3 separate regions of the Homo sapiens genome follow, and regions 1 and 3 are each linked to region 2. Evidence: promoter capture Hi-C in human tissues and cell types (Jung and others, 2019). All regions are on one chromosome and are shown on one strand. Each heading gives the region's core, a stretch centred on a gene start or on the middle of the fragment in contact. The rest is flanking DNA. Distances are from core to core; before and after follow the strand shown.

Region 1 (3,285 bases), core at 441-2,940, 160 kb before region 2:
TCACGCCACGTCACTCCAGCCTGGGTGACAGAGCGAGACTCCATCTCAAAAAAAAAAAAAAAAAAAAAAAAAAAAGGAGAAGGAAATGAGGATCCGCAAACTAGGATCTCCATTTTTTTTGCCTGGAGACAACTTTCAGACTGTGGGGCAGGAAAGGGGAAATCCAAGAATAACACCATGGTTTTGCTGAGTTGAGGAATAGATATTAGAGTTTGGGGAGATTAGGAGATTGAGGCAGCCAGAATTTATGGGATAGAGTACTAAAGAGAATGGAGCTACACAAAGAACTCCAGGAATATTAATATGGATCCCCAAGTCTTTGGCTAAATAATAATCTGAGCATACATAGAGTGCACTGACACTTTTCTGCAGCTGGGCGAAGAACTGCCAGGGAGCTATTAGCTGAATTCTTGATGGTCACATAGGGCTGGAAAATGTTTGAATTTCATTTAGCCATAATAAAGAGACCCTGCTGAACACTCAGATTAATCAAAAAAGTCAGAATTAAGTGGTAGGTCTAAATTAGCCCAAGGCAAAAGTTACTACAGACCTGTCCTAACAAAGCTTAAAAACAAGCCTTGAAAAGATCAACCTGATCTGCAAAAAACATAATAGCCTTCCAAAACAAACTGCAATAGTTCTTAAAGAAAGACAAAATCCAAACACTCAAAAATATAACATTTACAATGTCTGCTGTCCAATAAAAACATTATTAGACATGCAAATAAGCAACAAATTATGACCCCAAGCCAGGAAGAAAATCATCATAGGAATTACAGAGGTGACAAAATTAGCAGACAAGGACTTTAAAACCTCCATTATAAATGTGCTCAAAAATTTAAAGAAAAATATGAAGATAATTGAGGATGGAAATGAAAGAGTCAAATGGAACTTCTAAAAGTGAAAAATACAATATATGAAATGGAAACTTCACTGGATGGGATTAGCAAATACAGTAAACACTGAAGAAGAAAAGATCACTGAACAACACTCTTACTAACTTGATCTAGTTGACAATTATAGGATACAACAACCACGAGAAGCAGAATACACAGTTTTCAGTTACACAGTTGTGTGTAAGCAACACTCACCAAGATAGACCATATTCTGTGCCATAAAAGAAATGTTAACGAATTTAAAAGAATAGAAACTATACAATGTATATTTTTGGATCACAATACAATTAAATTAGAAATCAGTGACAAATATATTTGGGTAATACTTACATATTTGGTGACTAAACAATACACTTTAGGCTGGTCATGGTGGCTCATACCTGTAATCCCTGCACTTTGGGAGGCCGAGGCAGGCGGATCACCTGAGGTCAGGAGTTCAAGACCAGCCTGGCCAACATGATGAAACCCCATCTCTACTAAAAATACAAAAAATTGGACTGGGTGCAGTGGCTCATGCCTGTAATCCCAGCATTTTGGGAGGCCAAGGCGGGCAGATCACCTGAGGTCGGGAGTTCAAGACCCGCCTGACCAACATGAAGAAACCCCGTCTCTATTAAAAATACAAAATTAGCCTGGCGTGGTGGCATATGCCTGGAATCCCAGCTACTCAGGAGGTTGAGGCAGGAGAATTGCTGGAACCCAGGAGGCAGAGGTTGCAGTGAGCCGAGATCGTGCCATTGCACTCCAGCCTGGGCAACAAGAGCAAAACTCTGTCTCAAAAAAAAAAGAAAAAAAAATTAGCTGGGTGTGGTGGTGGGCACCTGTAATCCCAGCTACTTGGGAGGCTGAGGCAGGAGAATCGCTTGAATCTGGGAGCCGGGATTGTGCCACTGCACTCCAGCCTGGGCAAAAAAAGTGAAACTCTGTCTCAAAATAAACAAACAAAATAACAAACTTTAAAATAATCCATGGGTCAAAGAAGAAATTGCAAGGTGTATTAGAAAATACTTTGAACTAAATTATAATGGAAATATAACATCCAAAATATTATCTTTGCAAAGTACACATCTGACAAAGGACTAGTATCCAGAATCTACAAGGAACTAACAAATCACCAAGAAAAATAAAACACAATCCCATTAAAAAGTAGGCAAAGGACACAAATAGCCATTTCTCAAAAGAAGGTATACAAATGGCCCACAAACATATGAAAAAATGCTCAACATCGCTAATCATCAGGAAAATGCAAATTAAAACCACAACGAGCTACCACCTTGGTCCTGCAAGAATGGCCATTATTAAAAAGTCAAAAAACAATAGATGTTGGTGTGGATGTGGGGAAAAGAGAACACTTACACATTGCTGCTGGGAATATAAATTAGTACAACCTCTATGGAAAACAGTATGGAGATTCTCTAAAGAGCAAAAAACAGATCTACCATTCAATCCAGCAATCCCACTATTGGGTATCTACCCAAAGGAAAATAAGTAATTATATGAAAAAGACACTTGGACACATATGTTTATAGCAGCACAATTCACAATTGCAAAAATGTGAAACCAACCTAAGTCCCCATCGACTAATGAGTGGATAAAGAAAATGTGGTATATATATATACACATATATATATATACACACACACACACACACACACATATATATATACATAATACATATATATACACACACACATATATATATATACACCATGGAATATTACTCAGCCACGAAAAGGCATGAAATAATGTCCTTTGCAGCAACTTGGATCGAACTGGAGGCCATTACTTTAAGTGTGTATATATGTATACATACATATATATACTTTGTGTGTATATATGTATACATACATATGCAATATGTATATGTACACATATATATACAATGTGTATATATGCTTATAACAATAGTTTATTCTCATTCAACTGTTGGTGGATATATAGATATATAACTGTGTTTACAGTTACATATGTGTAAACACAGTTATATATCTGTATCTGTCTATCTATCCATCTAACACAGAGAGCCCAGAAAAAACCCACACCTACATATGTCCATGGCCAAATGATTTTTGATTAAGGTGCTAAGATTATTTGGTGGGGAAAAGATAGCCTTCTCAGCATATTTTTCCAAAGAGACAATTGGATATTCCTTTGGAAAAAAATATGAATCTTCATTGTTACCTCACACCATACACCATACATAAACATCAACTCAAAAGGATTCATAGACCAAATTATAAATGGTAAAACTATAAAACTTCTAAAAGAAAATATAGGAGAAAATCATCATAAGTTTTCAGTAGGCAAGGAGTTTTTGAATAGGACATAAGAAATACAAACTATAAAAGAAAAAATAAATTGGGCTTTATCAAAATTACATCTTCTGCTC
Region 2 (3,353 bases), core at 392-2,891:
AAGGATACTTACAGTTTTTTATTGAATGTAAGCTAAACAAGGGGTGGATTATTCATGAGGTTTCTGGGAAAGGGGTCCAAAGTTACCGGAACTGAGGATTCCTCCCCCTTTTTAGACCACATAGGGTCACTTCTTATTGTTGCCATGGCATCTGTAAGTGGACACGGCGCTGGTGGGCGTGTCTTTTAGCATGCTAATGCATTATAATTGGCGTATAATGAGCAGTAAGGACGACCAGAGGTCACTTATTATGCCATCTTGATTCTGGTGGGATTTGGCTGGCTTCTTTACTGAAACCTGTTTTATCAGCAAGGTCTTTGTGACCCGTATCTTGTGCCGGCCTCCTATCTCATCCTGTGACTTAGAATGCCTGTCTTCCTGGGAATGCAGTCCAGTAGGTCTCGGCCTTATTTTACTCAGTCCCTAGTCAAGATGGAGTTGCTGTGGTTCCAGCGCCTCTGACAGTTTGTCTTCTCTACTTTATTTTTTGTAGGGGGTAAGGGGTGTCTCATTTTGCTGCCCAAGCTAGCCTTGAACTCCTAGGCTCAAATGAGCCTCCCTCCGCAGCCTCTCCAAGTGTTGGGATTACAGGCATGAGCCACCACACCTGGCCTGTCTTATCTACTTTAAAGCAGTTTTCTTGTAGATTGACCCTCTGAATTCAGGGTCTATTCAAGTGAGGGCATCTTCTTTTCGGGTTGTTTGTTTTTGTTTTTTGCATGGTAAGAAGCGTGGGATAGGCCGGGTGTGGTGGTTCATGCTTGTAAGCCCCAACACTTTGGGAGGCCAGTGGGTGGATTGCTTGAGTTCAGGAGTTCGAGACTAGCCTGGGCAACATGGCGAAACCCCGTCTGTACAATACAAAATTTAGCCAGATGTGGTGGCTTGCGCCTGTAGTCCCTCTAGTCTCAGCTACTCAGGAGGCTGAGGTGAGAGGATCGCCTGAGGCCAGGAGATTGGGGCTGCAGTGAGCCAGGATCGCGCCACTGAACTCCAGCTTAGGCGGCCGAGTGAGACCCTAAGTCAAAAAAAAAAAAAAGAGAGAAAAGAAAAGAAGCAGGGCTGACTGATTAGGACAGCATTTCTTTTGCCGCCAGCTGAACTGCGGCGTCTAGAGTTCCCGGCCATAATTGCAAGAATTTATCGAAAAGCTTTACATGTTTTCTTGGTTTTGGTTTTGTTTTGAGACAGAGCCTCACCCTTTCGCCCACCCTGGAGTGCAGTGTGCGATCATAGCTCACTGCAGCATCGACCTCCCGGGTTCAAGCGATCCTCGCTTCATTCTCCTGAATTGCTGGGACCACAGGCGCGCGCCATCGCGCCCGGGTATTTTTTCGTTTTTGTAGAAATGGAGTCTTGCCATATTGCCCAGGCTGGTCTCGATCTCCTGGGCTCAAGCGATCCTCCCGCCTCGGCCTCCCAAAGTGCTGGGATACAGGAGTGAGCCACCGCGCCCAGTCGCAGTACACTAAAAGTATTTATTCGGTCCGCGTCCCCCGCCTGCGGGTGCAGGGATGGCGGCTCCAGGCTGGAGGCGGCTGGGGGCCCGGCCAGTGCGCCAGGAGCCGCAGGAACGCTAGTGAGCCGCGCGCTGGGCCGGCAGCTGGGGGTTATTTTAGTGCGCGGGGAGGGGGCGGCCCGCGGCGGAGCGTAGGGTTGAGCGGCTTCCCCCGCACTGGGGTGAGAGCCCAGAACAGGCGGTAGAGCCACCCCACCACCCCCAACTCCATTCCCCGCGCTCGCTGCGGCTGGACGTGAAAAGCCGGTCTCACGCTCTGGGGAGTTAGTCGCCTTCCACTGGGACCCTCAGACGAGTGAGCGAACATGAAGTCCGGTCCTGGCATCCAAGCCGCCATCGACCTCACAGCGGGGGCCGCAGGGGGGACAGCGTGTGTACTGACTGGGCAGCCCTTCGACACAATAAAAGTGAAGATGCAGACGTTCCCTGACCTGTACAAGGGCCTCACCGACTGCTTCCTGAAGACATACGCTCAAGTGGGTCTCCGGGGCTTCTACAAGGGCACCGGCCCGGCACTTATGGCCTACGTCGCCGAAAACTCGGTCCTCTTCATGTGCTACGGGTTCTGCCAGCAGTTTGTCAGGAAAGTGGCTGGAATGGACAAGCAGGCAAAGCTGAGTGATCTCCAGACTGCAGCCGCGGGGTCCTTCGCCTCTGCATTTGCTGCACTGGCTCTCTGCCCCACTGAGCTTGTGAAGTGCCGGCTACAGACCATGTATGAAATGGAGATGTCAGGGAAGATAGCAAAAAGCCATAATACAATTTGGTCTGTCGTGAAGGGTATCCTTAAAAAGGATGGCCCCTTGGGCTTCTACCATGGACTCTCGAGTACTCTACTTCAAGAAGTACCGGGTTATTTCTTTTTCTTTGGTGGCTATGAACTGAGCCGATCGTTTTTTGCGTCAGGGAGATCAAAAGATGAACTAGGCCCTGTCCATTTGATGTTAAGTGGTGGAGTTGCTGGAATTTGCCTGTGGCTTGTCGTGTTCCCAGTGGATTGTATTAAATCCAGAATTCAAGTTCTTTCCATGTATGGGAAACAGGCAGGATTTATTGGTACCCTCTTAAGTGTTGTGAGAAATGAAGGAATAGTAGCCTTATATTCTGGACTGAAAGCTACTATGATTCGAGCAATCCCTGCCAATGGGGCACTGTTTGTGGCCTACGAATACAGCAGGAAGATGATGATGAAACAGTTGGAAGCATACTGAAGTGTCTTGGTGAACCTGGATCCGAGTCCATGAGTTTGAGGACTACAGTTCATCACAGGGTTCAGCAGAGTACAAGACCACTGTCTAATTTTGACTTCATGGGAATTTTGGTTTTATCTTCCCTTCTTCTACCCTAAATCTTAACTTTATGGAAGGGCCTCTATTTTACATCATATAATTTCTGCCCATAATTGTATTGAAATAGGAAAGTTGCTGCTCTTGCACTTGCTGGAATGTACAGGGTGGGCTGGTTGGCCCTATGTACCTAATCTGAAAAACTAAATATCGTTCTGTCAGGGCCTTTGCATAAAGCCATTTGTGTGTACATGCAGTTTGGATGATTCTATGTCGTGAGTGAAACAATTTAGTTCTATATATAATCTCAAATATCAGCCCCCCAAACCCAGAATTGACCATATTTTGTGAAGATAGGTATGAATGATTACTTAGGATCACTCTCTCTTTTTTTCTTTTTTTTTGGAGACAGAGTCTCACTCTGTCGCCCAGGCTGGAGTGCTGTGGCATGATCTTGGCTCACTGCAACCTCTGCCTGCCTGGTTCAAGCGATTCTCCTGCCTCAGCCTCCCGAGTTGCTGGGATTACAGGTGCCCGCCACCATGCCC
Region 3 (3,007 bases), core at 250-2,749, 140 kb before region 2:
GTCAAGCAGCTTCTCTAACACAGGATCAACATATGTCTTTCCACTGTTGGTCACTTTTACTTCAAAGAGAAATATAGAGTTGCTGCTAAGGTGATAATTTTGTAAGGAATTTCTCTCAACATCAGGATCTTCTGCAGGTTCTGTTGCAAATCTTGTTCCAGCTGGGTAAACTCAGAGATACGTAACTTAATAACATTCCTGCTGAACCGTGGTGCATGATTCTTCATATCCTGAATCTCCATATTAATGTGAAAAACATTTAAAGAATTTTCAACTACCGTTTGTTCATTTTTTTTGAGATGGCGCCTTGCTCTGTCACCCAGGCTGGAGTGCAGTGGTGCGATTGCCTCTCGGGTTCAAGCGATTCTCCTGCCTCGGCCCCCCGAGTAGCTAGGATTATAGGCCTGCACCACCATGCCCAGTAATTTTTGTATTTTTAGTAGAGACAGGGTTTCACTATGTTGGTCAGGCTGGTCTCGAACTCCTGACCTCGTAATCTGCTCGCCTCGGCCTCCCAAAGTGCTGGGATTACAGGTGTGAGCCACCATGCCTGGCCTTCAACTATTTCAAAGCGTTATGGCCCAAGCTATAATTGGGGGGCGTATCTGCTCCTGATCCATTCAGTCATTCACAAGTAAGTCTCCACTTTCCCCACTTAGAATGAAGTATTATTCCTCAGCATTAACCCGAAGCTTTCAAGTGGGCATGTCCTCGACACTGAGTCCCAGATCCTTGGCAAGGTTTCCCACCACCAAACTCTTGGCCAGCTCCTCTAGGACTGAATAACGGATCTGCATCATAGAGAATGCCCAGCAGGATAGAAATAGCAGGAAAGGAGGCAGTAGTCGCCTTGGTTCTACCCAGACTGTCAGTCCAGCACCATTCCCCACCTTTTCCACAGTTAGAGTTGCTGCTGCTCCAGCCCAAATAAGCCCCTTTTCAAACTCTTCTTGGATTATAGAATCTCCAGCCAAGAAGGAGCTGAACTCATTGCCTGTAAATCCGTTCCGTTCCTGCTTATAATTTGTAGAACTAGGAGCCATAATAGGAATGTTGTGGGTCTGCTCTTGGATTTGCATTCCATGAAATTAGAAAAGCCACCAAGCCGGAATGTCTGGGGATTGGCTCATTTATCTCTGTTTCCAGACTGGCCAACAGTGGCACTCTGAGTCCCTACTCTAGAACTGCAGCCTGAAGAAATGAGAGGACAGCGTTCTGTAGAGTTAGTTGAGAGCAGAGAGAAAGACGTTTCTCACTGGAATTTGCAAGCTGAAAGGCAGCAGTGCAGTCTTGCTCCCGCAATAAAATATTCCTGGGAATTTATAACCTCAGTGATGTTAGCACATGAAGTCGAAGTGATGACTTATTTTTATTTCTTCTTGATGTTTGAGTATTTGTAGGCTTAGAATCTTTCTTTCCATTCCCACTTCCATGCCTGGGCTTTACTTTTTCCATGGAACACAGTCTCAGAATGAACTGTTGGCTGAATCTTCAGCTGAAATTGTATAGGAAGCTTCTAAGAATTTTCACATATGGATTTTTTTTTTTTTTTGTCAGAGTCTCACTATGTCGCCCAGGCTGGAGTGCAGTGGCGTGATCTCAGCTCACTGCAACCTCTGTCTCCCGGGTTCAAGTGATTCTCTTGCCTCAGCCTCCTGAGTAGCTGGGATTACAGGCGCCTGCCACACAATATGGAAATCTTATGAACTGAGGCATCTATTTTCAAAATTTGACAAACAAACCAGGTCCTTAGCCTTTTAAGATAAGTCAGACAGTTGGCAGGGTGCGGTGGCTCATGCCTATAATCCCAGCACTTTGGGAGGCCAAGGCAGGTGGATCACCTGAGGTCAGGAGTTCAAGAGCAGCCTGGCCAACTTGATGAAACTCTGTCTCTACTAAAAATATTTTAAAAAATTAGCTGGGCATGGTGACAGGCGCCTGTAATCCCAGCTACTGGAGAGGCTGAGGCAGGAGAATCGCTTGAACCCAGGAGGCAGAGGTTGCAGTGAGCTGAGATCACACCACTTGCACTCCAGCCTGGGTGACAGAGCAAGACTCCATCCCCTACTCCAAATATATATATACATATATGTGTGTGTGTGTGTGTATATATATATATATATATATATATATATATATATATATATATATGTATGTATGTATGTATGTATATCAGACAGCTGCCTCTTATTAGGGCTTAGATATAGAGGAAAAGTCCATGTAAAATAATTGGTTTTGCACTATGATTCTTTTTTCTCCAAGAGACCACTTTCCAATAATTGAACTCAAGCATTGTATTGAGTACTTAGAAGGTGTACAAACTACTGTGTGAAATACTTCAGAGAGTTAATGATGAACTAAGAAATTATATCTGCCCTCAATGACAATACACAGAGTAGATCCTTATATGACATGTATAAGAAAAATTATGGTGGTACCAACTTCTTTTACATACAGATTAAATTATTTTGTTTGATTCTATGGTCTCTTCAATGACAGTTTTTTAAAAACATTTTCCTGAACCAGAGCCCTTCCCATATGGTATCCAGAAGTCTCATCCTTTATAAAATATTTTTTCCAATTAGCTTTGCCATAGGCTGGCTATCTTTTGCCATTAATATTTTAGGAATGCATCCTAAACAGTATGCCCTGTTACTGGTAATTTTCCATTAAGTATGGTTTCTTAAAAGTGAACTCAAAGTGGTCGGGCATGGTGGCTCACACCTGTAATCTCAGCTATTTGGGAGGCTGAGGTGGGGTGGGTGCATCCCAAGATCAAGAGATCAAGACCATTCTGGCCAATATGGTGAAACCCCATCTCTACTAAAAATACAAAAATTAGCTGGGTGTGGTGGCGTGTGCCTGTAGTCCCAGCTACTCGGGAGGCTAAGGCAGGAGAATAGCATGAACCCAGGAGGCAGAGGTTGCAGTGAGCCAAGATAGTGCCACTGCACTCCAGCTTGGCGACAGATTGAGACTCTGTCTCAAAAAAAAAAAAAAAGGTGAA

The links. Contacts are between HindIII fragments. The study calls those that stand out against the background at their distance.
Region 1: a fragment that was not itself captured here is called in contact with the fragment with the promoter of SLC25A2 in region 2 in 9 of the 25 tissues and cell types used here (H1 embryonic stem cells, aorta, dorsolateral prefrontal cortex and 6 more).
Region 3: a fragment that was not itself captured here is called in contact with the fragment with the promoter of SLC25A2 in region 2 in 2 of the 25 tissues and cell types used here (fat and pancreas).

Annotation. Positions count from the first base shown.
Region 1 is chr5:141,460,229-141,463,513 of GRCh38, reverse strand. The region is part of intron 1 of PCDHGA1 (protocadherin gamma subfamily A, 1); the gene reads right to left. All of the region lies in intron 1 of PCDHGA2 (protocadherin gamma subfamily A, 2), which reads right to left. All of the region lies in intron 1 of PCDHGA3 (protocadherin gamma subfamily A, 3), which reads right to left. The region is part of intron 1 of PCDHGB1 (protocadherin gamma subfamily B, 1); the gene reads right to left. It also overlaps PCDHGA4, PCDHGB2, PCDHGA5, PCDHGB3, PCDHGA6 and PCDHGA7, and 10 more genes. Among named protein-coding and RNA genes, the nearest start is that of PCDHGC3, 14 kb to the left of the region's middle. The HindIII fragment of the contact is 8,589 bases long and covers 1-3,285 here.
Region 2 is chr5:141,302,337-141,305,689 of GRCh38, reverse strand. SLC25A2 (solute carrier family 25 member 2) reads left to right here and starts at 1,641. Exons shown (of 1, transcript NM_031947.4): 1 at 1,641-3,055. The coding sequence starts at 1,825. The coding sequence ends at 2,730. The HindIII fragment of the contact is 6,230 bases long and covers 1-3,353 here.
Region 3 is chr5:141,437,736-141,440,742 of GRCh38, reverse strand. All of the region lies in intron 1 of PCDHGA1 (protocadherin gamma subfamily A, 1), which reads right to left. All of the region lies in intron 1 of PCDHGA2 (protocadherin gamma subfamily A, 2), which reads right to left. The region is part of intron 1 of PCDHGA3 (protocadherin gamma subfamily A, 3); the gene reads right to left. The region is part of intron 1 of PCDHGB1 (protocadherin gamma subfamily B, 1); the gene reads right to left. It also overlaps PCDHGA4, PCDHGB2, PCDHGA5, PCDHGB3, PCDHGA6 and PCDHGA7, and 11 more genes. Among named protein-coding and RNA genes, the nearest start is that of PCDHGA12, 8.7 kb to the right of the region's middle. The HindIII fragment of the contact is 5,098 bases long and covers 1-3,007 here.